Regions from separate parts of the Homo sapiens genome. Here region 1 is linked to region 2. The links are contacts of gene promoters, found by promoter capture Hi-C in human tissues and cell types (Jung and others, 2019). All regions are on one chromosome and are shown on one strand. The core of a region is centred on a gene start or on the middle of the fragment in contact, and the rest is flanking DNA. Distances in the headings are between cores, read along the strand shown. Region 1 has its middle 6.6 kb from the start of DDI2. Region 2 holds the start of ZBTB17 (zinc finger and BTB domain containing 17).

Region 1 (6,212 bases), core at 2,244-4,743, 360 kb before region 2:
TTTATTTTAATTTTTTTAAAGGGGCTTTCCAGTGAAGACCAGAAAACCTGCTAAACAAATTCTTTTTTTTTTTTTTTTTTTTTTTTTGAGATGGAGTCTCACTCTGTCACCCAGGCTGAAGTGCAGTGGCACGATCTTGGCTCACTGCAACCTCTGCCCACCGAGTTCAAATGATTCTCCTGCCTCAGCCTCCTGAGTAGTTGGGATTACAGGCACCTGCCACTGCACCCGGCTAATTTTTTGTATTTTTAGTGGAGATGGGGTTTCACCATCTTGGCCAGGGTGGTCTTGAACTCCTGACCTCGTGATCAACCCGCCTCGGCCTCCCAAAGTGCTGGGATTACAGGCGTGAGCCACCGCGCCTGGCCCTGCTAGACAAATTCTAAAAGAACTGTAGCACTAATACTTCTTTTTCGGTTGCCAAATAATATTCTTTTATATGGATATACCACATTTTATTTATCCATTCATCAGTTGATGGATACTTGTTTCTACTTTTGGCTATTACGACTAATGCTGCTATGAACATTTATGTACAAGTTTTTGCGTGGATATATATTTTTATTTTCTTGGGTATATTTTGGGGGGTAGAATTTCTGGATCATTTGGTAACTCTTTGTCTAAGTTTGTTTGCTTGTTTATCTGTTTTTTAAGACAGGGTCTTGCTCTGTTTCCCAGGCTGGAGTGCAGTGGTGCAAGCTCGGCTCACTGCAAACTCCACCTCCCAGGTTCAAGCAATTCTCCTGCTTCAGCCTCCCAAGTAGCTGGGACTACAGGCGTGTGCCACAACACCCAGCTAATTTTTGTATTTTTAGTAGAAACAGGGTTTCACCGTGTTTGCCAGGATGGTCTTGAACTCCTGACCTCAAGTGATCCACCTGCCTCAGCCTCCCAAAGTGCTGATATTACAGGCGTGAGCCACTGCACCTGGCCCCCCCACCTTTTTTTTTTTTTTTTTTAAGAAATGGGGTCCCATAATGTTAACCAGGCTGGTTCCAACTCCTGGGCTCAAGTGATCCTCCCACCTCAGTCTCACAGTGCTGGGATTATAGGCATGTGCCACTGTGCCTATCCTGTATGTCTAACTTTTTGAGGAACTGTCAAACTTTTTTCCAAAGTGGCTGCACCATTTTACATTCCCGCCAGCAGTCTATTAGGGGTTCCTATTTCTCCACATCCTCATCACCACTTGTTATCATCTGCCTTTTTTTTTTTTTTTTTTTTTTGAGTATCTTTTTGGACAGAGTCTCCCTCTGTCCCCCAGGCTGGAGTGCAGTGGCACATTCTCGGCACGCTGCAACCTCCACCTCCAGGGTTCAAGCAATTATCCTGCCTCAGCCTCCAGAATAGCTGGAGTTATAGGCGCATGTCACTATAGCCGGCTAATTTTTATTTTTTTATTTTCATTTTTTTGAGATGGAGTCTCACTCTGTCACCCAGGCTGGAGTGCAATGGCACGATCTCGGCTCACTGCAACATCCACCTCTTGGGTTCAAGCAATTCTCCTGCCTCAGCCTCCCAAGTAGCTGGGATTACAGGCACACACCATCATGCCCAGCTAATTTTTATATTTTTAGTAGAGACGGGGTTTCACCATGTTAGTCAGGCTGGTCTCGAACTCCTGACCTCGGGATTCGCCCTCCTCTGCTTCCCAAAGTGCTGGGATTACAGACATGAGCCACCGCATCCGGCCTAATTTTTATATTTTTAGTAGAGATGGGGTTTCACCGTGTTGGCCAGACTGCTCTCGAACTCCTGGCTTCAAGTGATTTGCCTGCCTTGGCCTCCCAAAGTGCTGGGATTACAGGTATGAGCCACCACGCCCAACTCTGTCTTTTTTATTATAGCCATCCTAGTGAGCATAAAGTGGTATCTCATTTTGGTTTTACTTTGTATTTTTATTTTATTATGCTTATAGTTTCTGTAGGTCAGAAATTCAAAGGCAATACAGTGGAGACGGCTCCATAATGTCTGAAGCCTCATCTGGAAAGACTCATAAGTTGGAGATGATTCAACATCTGGGGGTTGAAGTCATCTGAAAGTGTCTTCACTTCTGTGCTTGGTGAGTTTTCCCGCTAATCAGCTTTCCCCTCAGCTGAGCAGCTTTCTGGAACAACCACACGTATTTTCTCCATGCGGTCTCACCGTGTGGTGTAGTTTGGGCTTCCTCACAGCATGGCTGCTGGGTTCCAAGAGCAAGCGTTCCAAGAGAATCACGGAGAAGCTGTACTGACTTTTTTTCAGCCATTGATTTATTTTTATTTGCAGTTTGTATTCAATACAAATCAATTTCATAACAAGTTACTATGAATCAAAGCATACACACACAAATATACAATCCAAAATAGATGTACAGCATTTCGGCATGGAGCAAAAGGGAGTGTTCATTCACACACACAGTGGAGTGGGTTCAGATCTGTTCCATCTGCTGTTCCCGTGTAGGTTTCTAAAGATGGAAAAAAAAAGACTACTGTGGCCATATTAGATGCTGGAACACATAAGCATCAGTGTGTGACCTTGTGAACAAAGGACTTCAGGGAGTGTCTATTTTTAAAAAGGTTTCTGTGTGTCAAGACAGTTGTAAACATTTTTATTACAGAATCAAGCTTACTTTGCGGTTTAGGACCAGGTTCTAACTATCTAAAAATATTGACATAACAAAATGTGTTTCAAACAGGGCATGATGGCTCATGTCTGTAATCCCAGCACGTTAGGAGATGAGGTAAGAGGATTGCTTGAGCCTAGGAGTTCAAGAACAGCTTGGGAACATAGAAAGACTCCTATTTCTACAAAAAGATAAAAATTCGCTGGGAATGGTGGCACACGCATGTAGTGCTAGCTACTTGGGAGGCTGAGGCAGGAGGATTGCTTTAGTCCACGAGGTTGAGGCCGCAGTGAACTCTAGCCTGGGTAACAGGGTGAGACCATGTCTCTTAAAAAAAAAGGCCCCAGCTGGGTGCGGTGGCTCACGCCTGTAATCCCAGCACTTTGGGAGGCTGAGGTGGGCAGATCACGAGGTCAGGAGTTCAAGACCATCCTGGCCAACATGGTGAAATGCCGTCTCTACAAAAAATACAAAAATTAGCGAGGTGTGGTGTTGTGCACCTGTAATCCTAGCTACTCGGGAGGCTGAGGCAGGAGAATCACTTGAACCTGGGAGGCGGAGGTTGCAGTGAGCCAAGATCGCTCCATTGCACTCCAGCCTGGGCGACAGAGTAAGACTCTGTCTCAAAAAAAAAAAAGCCCCAAAATGTGTTTTAAATGCAGCTATTCTGATCCATAGTTGTTGTTTGCAAAAAGCATTTACAGAAAAAGAGTATAGCCTGGGCACGGTGGCTCAGGCCTGTAATCCCAGCACTTTGGGAGGCTGAGGCGGGCAGATCACCTGAGGTCAGGAGTTTAAGACCAGCCTGACCAACATGGAGAAACTCCATCTCTACTAAAAATACAAAATTAGCCGAGCGTGGTGGTGCGTGCCTGTAATCCCAGCTACTCAGGAGGCTGAGGCAGGAGAATCGCTTGAACCTGGGAGGCGGAGGTTGCGGTGAGCCAAGATCATGCCATTGCACTCCAGCCTGGGCAACAAGAGTGAAACTCCATCTCAAAAAAAAAAAAAAGAAAGAAAGAAAAAGAAAAGAGTATAAAAGTTTTTGTGACTTTAATGCAAGTTAACTTTCAGTCTTTACTTTCCAAATACTTGATATACAGTTTTTGGCTCCTTTACATTTTTGCCCTTTTAATTTCAAGGTTTATAATTTTACCTTCAAAACAGATCTTTTTTTGTTTTTTGAGATGGAGTCTCACTGTGTCTCCCAGGCTGGACAGCAGTAGCATGATCTTGGCTCACTGCAACCTCTGGCTCTAAGGTTCAAGCAATTCTCCTATCTCAGCCTCTGAGTAGCTGGGATTACAGGCACACCACCATGCCCAGCTAATTTTTGTATTTTTAGTAGAGACAGGGTTTAATCTTGTTGGTCAGGCTGGTCTCGAACTCCTGACCTCAAGTGATCCACCTGCCTCAGCCTCCCAAAGTGCTGGGATTACAGGGGTGAGCCACCGCACCCAGCCCCTTAATGAATCTGGTGTCCTTGTTGAACGAAAATAGGTGAAATGAAATGCCTACCATTTGACTCTCTAAGGATAAACAAGAGTTATTGATGATGCTTGGACTTGGGGGTAGATTGCAGTCTATCATTGCCCTGGCACATGTCAATTACTAAATAAAAGGTCAAATGCAATGTCAAATCCAAATCCTCAGAGGAAAAAGAATTCAGTTACCAAAAGAACAGTGATAGCCTAACAATGTAAAACTTAATATATTGGCATTAAATTAGTACTGCTGAAATAATACATTGAGGATTTATAGAATGATGGAAGCTTTTTTTTTTTTTTTTGAGACGGAGTCTCACTCTGTCTTCCAGGCTGGAGTGCAGTGGTGCGGTCTCAGCTCACTGCAGCCTCCACCCTCCGAGTTCACACGATTCTCCTGCCTCAGCCTCCCGAGTAGCTGTAATTACAGACACTTGCCACCGTGCCCAGCTAATTTTTTGTATTTTTAGTAGAGATGGGGTTTCACCATCTTGGCCAGGCTGGTCTTGAACTCCTGACCTTGTGATCCACCCGCCTTGGTCTCCCAAAGTGCTGGGATTACAGGTGTGAGCCACTGCACCCAGCCGATGGAAGCTTTTTTAAACTTTAAGACAGGATCTTGCTCTGTCACCCAGGCTGGAGTGCCATGATAATGGCTTACTGCAGCCTTGACCTCCAGGGCTGAAGTGATCATCCTACCTCAGTCTCTTGGGTAGCTGTGACCACAAGTGTGTGACACCATGCCCACCTCTTTTTTTAAATTTGTGGGCCAGACACGGTGGCTCACACCTGTAATCCCAGCACTTTGGGAGGACGAGAGAGCTGGATCGCCTGAGGTCAGGAGTTTGAGACCAGCCTGGCCAACATGGTGAAACCCCATCTCTACTAAAAATACAAATATTAGCTGGGCATGGTGGCATGCTCCTGTAGTCCCAGCTACTCAGGAGGCTAAAGAAGGAGAATGGCTTGAACCCGGGAGGTGGAGATTGCAGTGAGCTGGGATCGTGCCATGGCACTCCAGCCTGGGGGACAAGAGTGAAACGCTGCCTCAAAAAAAAAAAAGGAGATTATGGCCAGGTGCAGTGGCTCATGCCCGTAATCCCAGCACTTTGGGGGGCCCAGTGGGTAGATCACCTGAGGTCAGGAGTTTGCGACCCGCCTGGCCTACATGGTGAAACCCTGTCTCCACTAAAAATACAAAAATTAGCCAGGTATGGTGGTGGGTGCCTGTAATCCCAGCTACTCAGGAGGCTGAGGCACAAGAATCACTTGAACCTGCGAGGCAGAGGTTGCAGTGAGCTGAGATCGCACCACTGCACTCCAGCCTGGATGGCAGAGCGAGACTGTGTCTCAGAAAGGAAAAACAAAAAATAAAAATTAGCGGGGCATGGTGGTGCAGGCCTGTAATCCCAGCAACTTGGGAGGCTCAGGCAGGAGAATCACGAGCCAGGGAAGTGGAGGTTGCAGTGAGCTGAGCTCGCACCACTGCACTCCAGCCTGGGCAACAGAACAAGACTCCATCTCAATAAATAAATAAATTAATTAAATTAAAATAAATTTTTTTTTGTAGAGATGGGGTCTCACCCTGTTGCCCAGGGTGATTTCAAACTCCTGGGCTCAATCGATCCTCCTGCTGTGGCCTCCCAAAGTGCTAGGATTACAGGTATGAGCCACCCCCACCCCTGCCAATGGAAATCTTTTATTTTACTGGTTTTACTGCCGTATAGACTTAATGAACCAAATGAAAACTGAATCTCCACTCCATATTACATCTTTATTTCTAAACAAGATAAAATCTATTATTTATTATTATTTTTTTTTTATTACCCAAGTTTTGTCTCAGGATCTACTATTCTTATTTTCAAGGTAGTTTTAACTGTCCACATTTCTTAAGCCACATTCAAGAAATAATGTCTTCAATTTTGGATGTTGCCTCTCTTCATCTTGTACATGACATTTAAGCAGATTTAATATTGGCATCCATCATCTAGTCAAACCCTTCACGTGTTCTTCAAAGCAATTAAATTTGGGGTTCTCAACCTTTTCTTTCTTTCTTTCCTTTTTTTTTTTTTTTGAGATGGAGTCTCACTCTGTCGCCCAGGCTGGAGTGCAATGGCGCGATC
Region 2 (5,750 bases), core at 1,015-3,514:
ACAGGCCCACTCCCTTTGATACATTCTTCACTTAGCCAGAGTGATCTTCCTAATCCACAAATCTGATTCGTGGCCAGGCATGGTTGCACATGCCTATAATCCCAGTACTTTGGGAGGCTGAGGCGGGAGGATCATTTGAGGCCAAGAGTTCGAGACCAGTCTGGGCAACATAGTGAGACCCCATCTCTACTAAAAATTTAAAAAATTAGCCAGGTGTTATGGTGCACGCCTGTAGTCCCAGCTAGTTGGGAGGCTGAGGCAGAAGGATCACTTGAGTTCAGATCAAGGCTGCAGTGAACTATGATTATGCTGCCACTGCACTCCAGCCTGGGTGACAGAGCAAGACGTAGTCTCAAAAAAAAAAAACAAAAACAAAAACAAAAAAAACCTGATTCTTTTATTTCAGGCTGGAAATAAAAGAATCCTCCCACCTCAGCCTTCCAAGAAGCTGGGACCACCAGAGGTGTACTCCACCATGCCCGGCTATTTTTTTTTTCCTTTTTTTTTTTTTTTCTTTTAATAAAGATGGGGTCTTGCCATGTTGCCCAGGCTTGTCTCAAACTCCTGGGCTCAAATGATCATCCCACGTTGGCCTCCCAAAGTGCTAGAATTACAGAGTAAGCCACCGCACCTGGCCACAGATCTGATTCTTAAATGGCTTCCCATTAACCTAAAGTTTAAAGTCCTTAACTAGGTTTACAACGTCCCCTAAGACCAGACCACAGCTTGCTGCTGCTTTTTTTTTTTTTCTTTTTTGAGACGGAATCTCGCTCTGTCGCCCAGGCTGGAGTGCAGTGGCGCCGTTTCGGCTCACTGCAACCTCCGCCTCCTGCGTTCGAGCGATTCTCATACCTCAGCCTCCTGAGCAGCTGGGACTACAGGCGCGCGCAAGCACGACCGGCTAATTTTTGTATTTTTAGTAGAGACGGGGGTTTCACCATATTGGCCAGGCTGGTCTCGAACTCCTGACCTCAAGTGATCTGCCCGCCTGGGCCTCCCAAAGTGCTGAGATTACAAGCGTGAGACAACGAGCCCGGCCCAGTCTGCTTCTTTATTTAGCCTGATCTCTCTCTCCTCTCTCTACGAAGATGAGTTTTCTCACAAACTACACCCTTAACTGGGAATACCCGTTTTCCTGCCTCACTCCGCTGAGCTTCCCTTAGATCTTAGCTTTCTGGGGGACAGAAGCCTCCCGGGATTCCCCCTAGGCTGAGTGATGTGTCTCTACTCCGTGCTTCAGAGGAAGGAGGGCTTTCTGCCCTCGCAGCAGTATCAGAATTGCTGATTTACCTGTATGTCTCCCACATGGGTCTCTGAGCTCTGGGTGACAATGGTGATACAATTAATAACAGCAACAAACACACAGCATTTACTTTGTACCCATAAGTGTTCTAGGAGCCTCATTTCCCCTTTATTACAATCTTAGGAGGCTGATTTTATTATCATCTCTGCTTAAAGGATGAATAAACCCAGGCAGAGAGAAAAAGCCAAAAGTGCCTAAGGTCACAGCAGGGAATGGGGATTCAAACCCCGCTGCTGGGCTCCACGGTTCACACTCCTAACTCCAGGATCGAGGATCCTGGAGGATCGAGTCCGCCCGCATCACTCGCTCTAGCTTCACCATCTATCAGGTGCTGAACCACCGTCCGCAGTACGAATGAATGAATGAAATGCTTTTATACAGGGACAGCGTCGGCCTCCTCTGTCAGCTCCTCCTAGGCCCGGGCAGCCCCGCTCCCTCCCGCCCCGGCCGGCCGACAGGAGCTGCCCCGGCACTGCGCTCCCTCGCGGCCGCAGAACGCCCACCCTCGACAGCGCGCGGGGTCAAGGGGCGGTGACAGCCGTGCGGCGGGGGCGGAGATGCTACCAGCTGGGGTGTCATCCAGCCCGGGAGGTGACACGCGCCCCCTCGCCCGGGCGGTCGCCTGGCCGCCCACTCCCCGCCAGCACGCCCGGCGACGCCCCCCGCCCCGCCACCCCACAATCTCCCGCCCAGCGGTGTCCCCTCAGCCCCGGTTGGCGTCCCATTCCACTTCCCTCCCCTCCCCCACACAACCGTCACCGGCGTCCCACCGCGCCCCATCCTCCGCCGCCTCCGCCCCGGCTCCCGGGACTTCCCCGGCCCCGGGCGATTGTTGACACTCACCTGCCATGTCCCGGACCCCACCGCAGAGGGAGGTGCATCACGGCCGCGAGAAGGCCGGGGACGGCACTCCAGAGCAGACAAAGGGCGCCGCCATGTTAGAGTCGGGCGGAACCGACCTCGCAGGCTTCCCGGCTGCAACTTCCGGCGCATGCGCAGCGTCCTCGCTAGGAGAGCGCCCATAGACAGACGCATGCGCCTAGCTATCCAAAAGTTCCACCTTACAGTACTTCGGCGCTCAGAGTTGTCCTCATTGTACCCCTGCCTTGGTTTCTCTTCCAAATATAACAGTAACATCATGTGTTCAGCTCTTACTGTGTGCCAGGCACTGTGTTAAGCGCTTTACATGCATTATCTCTTTAAATCCTCACACCAATTATAAGATAGTATTATTCTCCTAATTTTAAAAAAGGGAAAACAGACTCAAAAAGTGTAAATCAATGTCCATGGTCACATATCTTGTAAGTGGTGGACCGGAGATATGAATCTACTTGTGGCTTCAAAGCTGCAGATCCCAGTTGTGTTTTTCTACCTTCTAAACCGAACATTATCCCCTTCCCTGATTGTCTTGGACGTGAATAAAGGTGTCTGAAAACAAAAGTGTCTGCAGACTTGCATGGCCCCTCCGTGGCCCCTCTTCTACCTTTTTGGTAGCTCTAGGCCACTGACTTCTCCACTTTCTCACAGTCTGAGGGCTTTCTCCTTTGTTTACTTCTAGGCCTGCATATTTTCCATAATCTATAATTTTAACAACACTCTTGCCACTACTGTAAGCTCTTTTGCCCCCTTGCCTTTTTGTCACATGGATTTGGTAAGAATACCAACGCTGTGTGAATCCAAATGCACCTTTTCTCTTTGTTAGCTCCCAAACAGCCAAGCACAGCTGAAGAAAGTATGCAGTGGGGAGACTGTTCCCTAGAGATTCATGTCCACTAGCCTTCAGTGGGATGCAACATATGCCAATCTGGCAACTCACTCCTGTCTTCACAATGGCTAGAGAAACAAAAAAGCCCAGCAGTTGACTTCACCCCTTCTTGTCTTTAGGTTTTTTTTTTTTTTTTGGAGACAGAGTCTCACTCTGTCTTCCAGGCTGGAGTGCAGTGGCGCTGTCTCGGTTCACTGCAAGCTCCGCCTCCCGGGTTCACGCCATTCTCCTGTCTCAGCCTCCAGAGTAGCTGGGACTACAGGCGCCCGCCACAACACCTGGCTAATTTTTTGTATTTTTAGTAGAGACGGGGTTTCACCATGTTAGCCAGGATGGTCTCGATCTTCTGACCTCGTGATCCACCTGCCTCAGCCTCCCAAAGTGCTGGGATTACAGGCGTGAGCCGCCGTGCCCGGCCGTCTTTCTTTTCTTTCTTTTTTTTTTTTTTAGATGGGGTCTCGCTATGTTGCCCGGCTGGACTGAAACCCCTAGGCTTAAGCATCCCATTTCAACCTCCCCAGTAGCTGAGACTACAGGCATGTGCACCCACAACTGGCTAACTTCACCCGTTCTTTTTAACTATATTTTTAATTTTTATTTCAGTAGTTTTTGGGGAACACATGGTGTTTGGTTACATGGATAAGTTCTTTAGTGATGATTTCTGTGATTTTGGGGGACCCATGACCTGAACAGTGTACATTCTACCCAAGGTGTAGTCTTTTTTTTTTTTTTTTTTTTTTTTTGAGATGGAGTCTTGCTCTGTTGCCCAGGCTGGAGTGCAGTGGCGCCATCTGGGCTCACTGCAAGTTCCGCCTCCCAGGTTCACGCCATTCTCCTGACTCAGCCTCCCGAGTAGCTGGGACTACAGGCGCCCGCCACCATGCCCGGCTAATTTTTTGTATTTTTAGTAGAGACGGGGTTTCACCGTGTTAGCCAGGATGGTCTGGATGTCCTGACCTCGTGATCCGCCCGCCTCGGCCTCCCAAAGTGCTGGGATTGCAGGCGTGAGCCACTGCGCCCAGCCAACCCAAAGTGTAGTCTTTTATCCCTCACCCCTCCCACCTTTCCCCCTGAGTTCCCAAAGTCCATTGTGTCATTCTTATGCCTTTGCGTCCTCATAGCTTAGCTCCCACCTAAAAGTGAGAGCATATGATATTTGGTTTTCCATTCCTGAGTTACTTCATTTAGAATAATGGTCTCTAGCTCCATCCATGTTGCTGCAAATGCCATTATTTCATTCCTTTTTATGGCTGAGTAGTATTCCATGTTATATATATATACCACATTTTCTTTATCCACTCGTGCATTGATGGGCATTTGAGATGGTTCTATATGTTTGCAATTGTGAACTGTGCTGCTACAAACATGCGTGTGGAAGTGTATTTTTCATATAATGACTTATTTTCCTCTCTGTAGATACCCGCTAGTGGGATTGCTGGATCTAATGGCAGATTTACTTTTAGTTCTTTAAGGAACATCCATATTGTTTTCCATAGTGGTTGTGCTAGTTTACATTCCCACCAGCAGTGCAAAAGTGTTCCCTTTTCACCACAACCATGTCAACATCTATCATTTTTTCATTTTTGATTGTGGCCATTCATGCAGGAGTAGGTATGGCATTATGGTTTTGATTTGCATTTGCCTGATGATTAGTGATATTGAGCATTTTTTCACGTTTGTTGGCCATTTGTGTATCTTCTTTTAAGAACTGTCGGGCCGGGCGCGGTGGCTCACGCCTGTAATCCCAGCACTTTGGGAGGCCGAAGTGGGCAGATAGCCTGAGGTCAGGAGTTCGAGACCAGCCTGGTCAACATGGCGAAACCTCGTCTCTACTAAAAAATCAAAAAAATAAAAATAAAAAAAATAGCCAGCATCGTGGTGGGCACCTGTAGTACCAAGCTACTCAAGAGGCTGAGGCAGGGAGAATTGCTTGATCCTGAGGCTGCAGTGAGCTAAGATTGTGCCACTGCACTCCAGCCTGGGCGACAGTGTGAGACTCTGTCTCAAAAAAAAAAAAATAAGAATTGTCTGTTCATGTCCTTAGCATGTGACTTTTTAATAGGATTATTTGCTTTTTTCTTGCTGATTTGTTTGAGTTCCTTGTAGATTCTGGGTATTAGTTCTTTGTTGGATGCATAGTTTGTGAAAATTTTCTCCCACTCTGTGGGTTGTCTGTTTACTCTGCTGATTATTTATTTTGCTGTGCAGAAACTTTTTAGTTTAATTAGGTCCCATTTATTTATATTCATTTTTGTTGCATTTGCTTTTGGGTTCTTAGTCATAAAGTCTTCGCCTAAGCCAATGTCCAGAAGAGTTTTTCCAATGTTGTCTTCTAGAATTTTTGTGGTTTCAGGTCTTAGATTTCAGTCTTTGATCTATCTTGAGTTGATATTTGTATAAGGTGAGAGATGAGGATACAGTTTCATTCTTCTACGTGTGGCTTGCCAATTATCCCAGTACCATTTACTGAATAGGGTGCCCCTCCCCCCTTTATATTTTTGTTTGCTTTGTTGAAGATCCATTGGATATAAGTATTTGGCTTTATTTCTGGGTTCTCTATTCTGTTCGTTTGGTCTATGTACCTATTTTATTCCAGTACCGTGCTGTTTTGGGGACTATAGCCTTGTAGTATAGTTTGAAGTTGGGTAATGTGATGCTCCCAGATTTGTTCTTTTTGCTTAG

Evidence for each region. Contacts are between HindIII fragments. The study calls those that stand out against the background at their distance.
Region 1: a fragment that was not itself captured here is called in contact with the fragment with the promoter of ZBTB17 in region 2 in 1 of the 25 tissues and cell types used here (adrenal gland).

What each region holds. Positions count from the first base shown.
Region 1 is chr1:15,607,744-15,613,955 of GRCh38, forward strand. It overlaps the pseudogene LOC124904764, the pseudogene RNU7-179P and the pseudogene CD24P1. Among named protein-coding and RNA genes, the nearest start is that of DDI2, 6.6 kb to the right of the region's middle. The HindIII fragment of the contact is 5,795 bases long and covers 597-6,212 here.
Region 2 is chr1:15,973,837-15,979,586 of GRCh38, forward strand. It overlaps ZBTB17 (zinc finger and BTB domain containing 17), which reads right to left and starts at 2,265. Exons shown (of 16, transcript NM_003443.3): 1 at 2,147-2,265. RefSeq lists enhancers at 1,129-1,238, 2,130-2,629 and silencers at 1,659-1,988, 2,029-2,128. The HindIII fragment of the contact is 12,952 bases long and covers 1-5,750 here.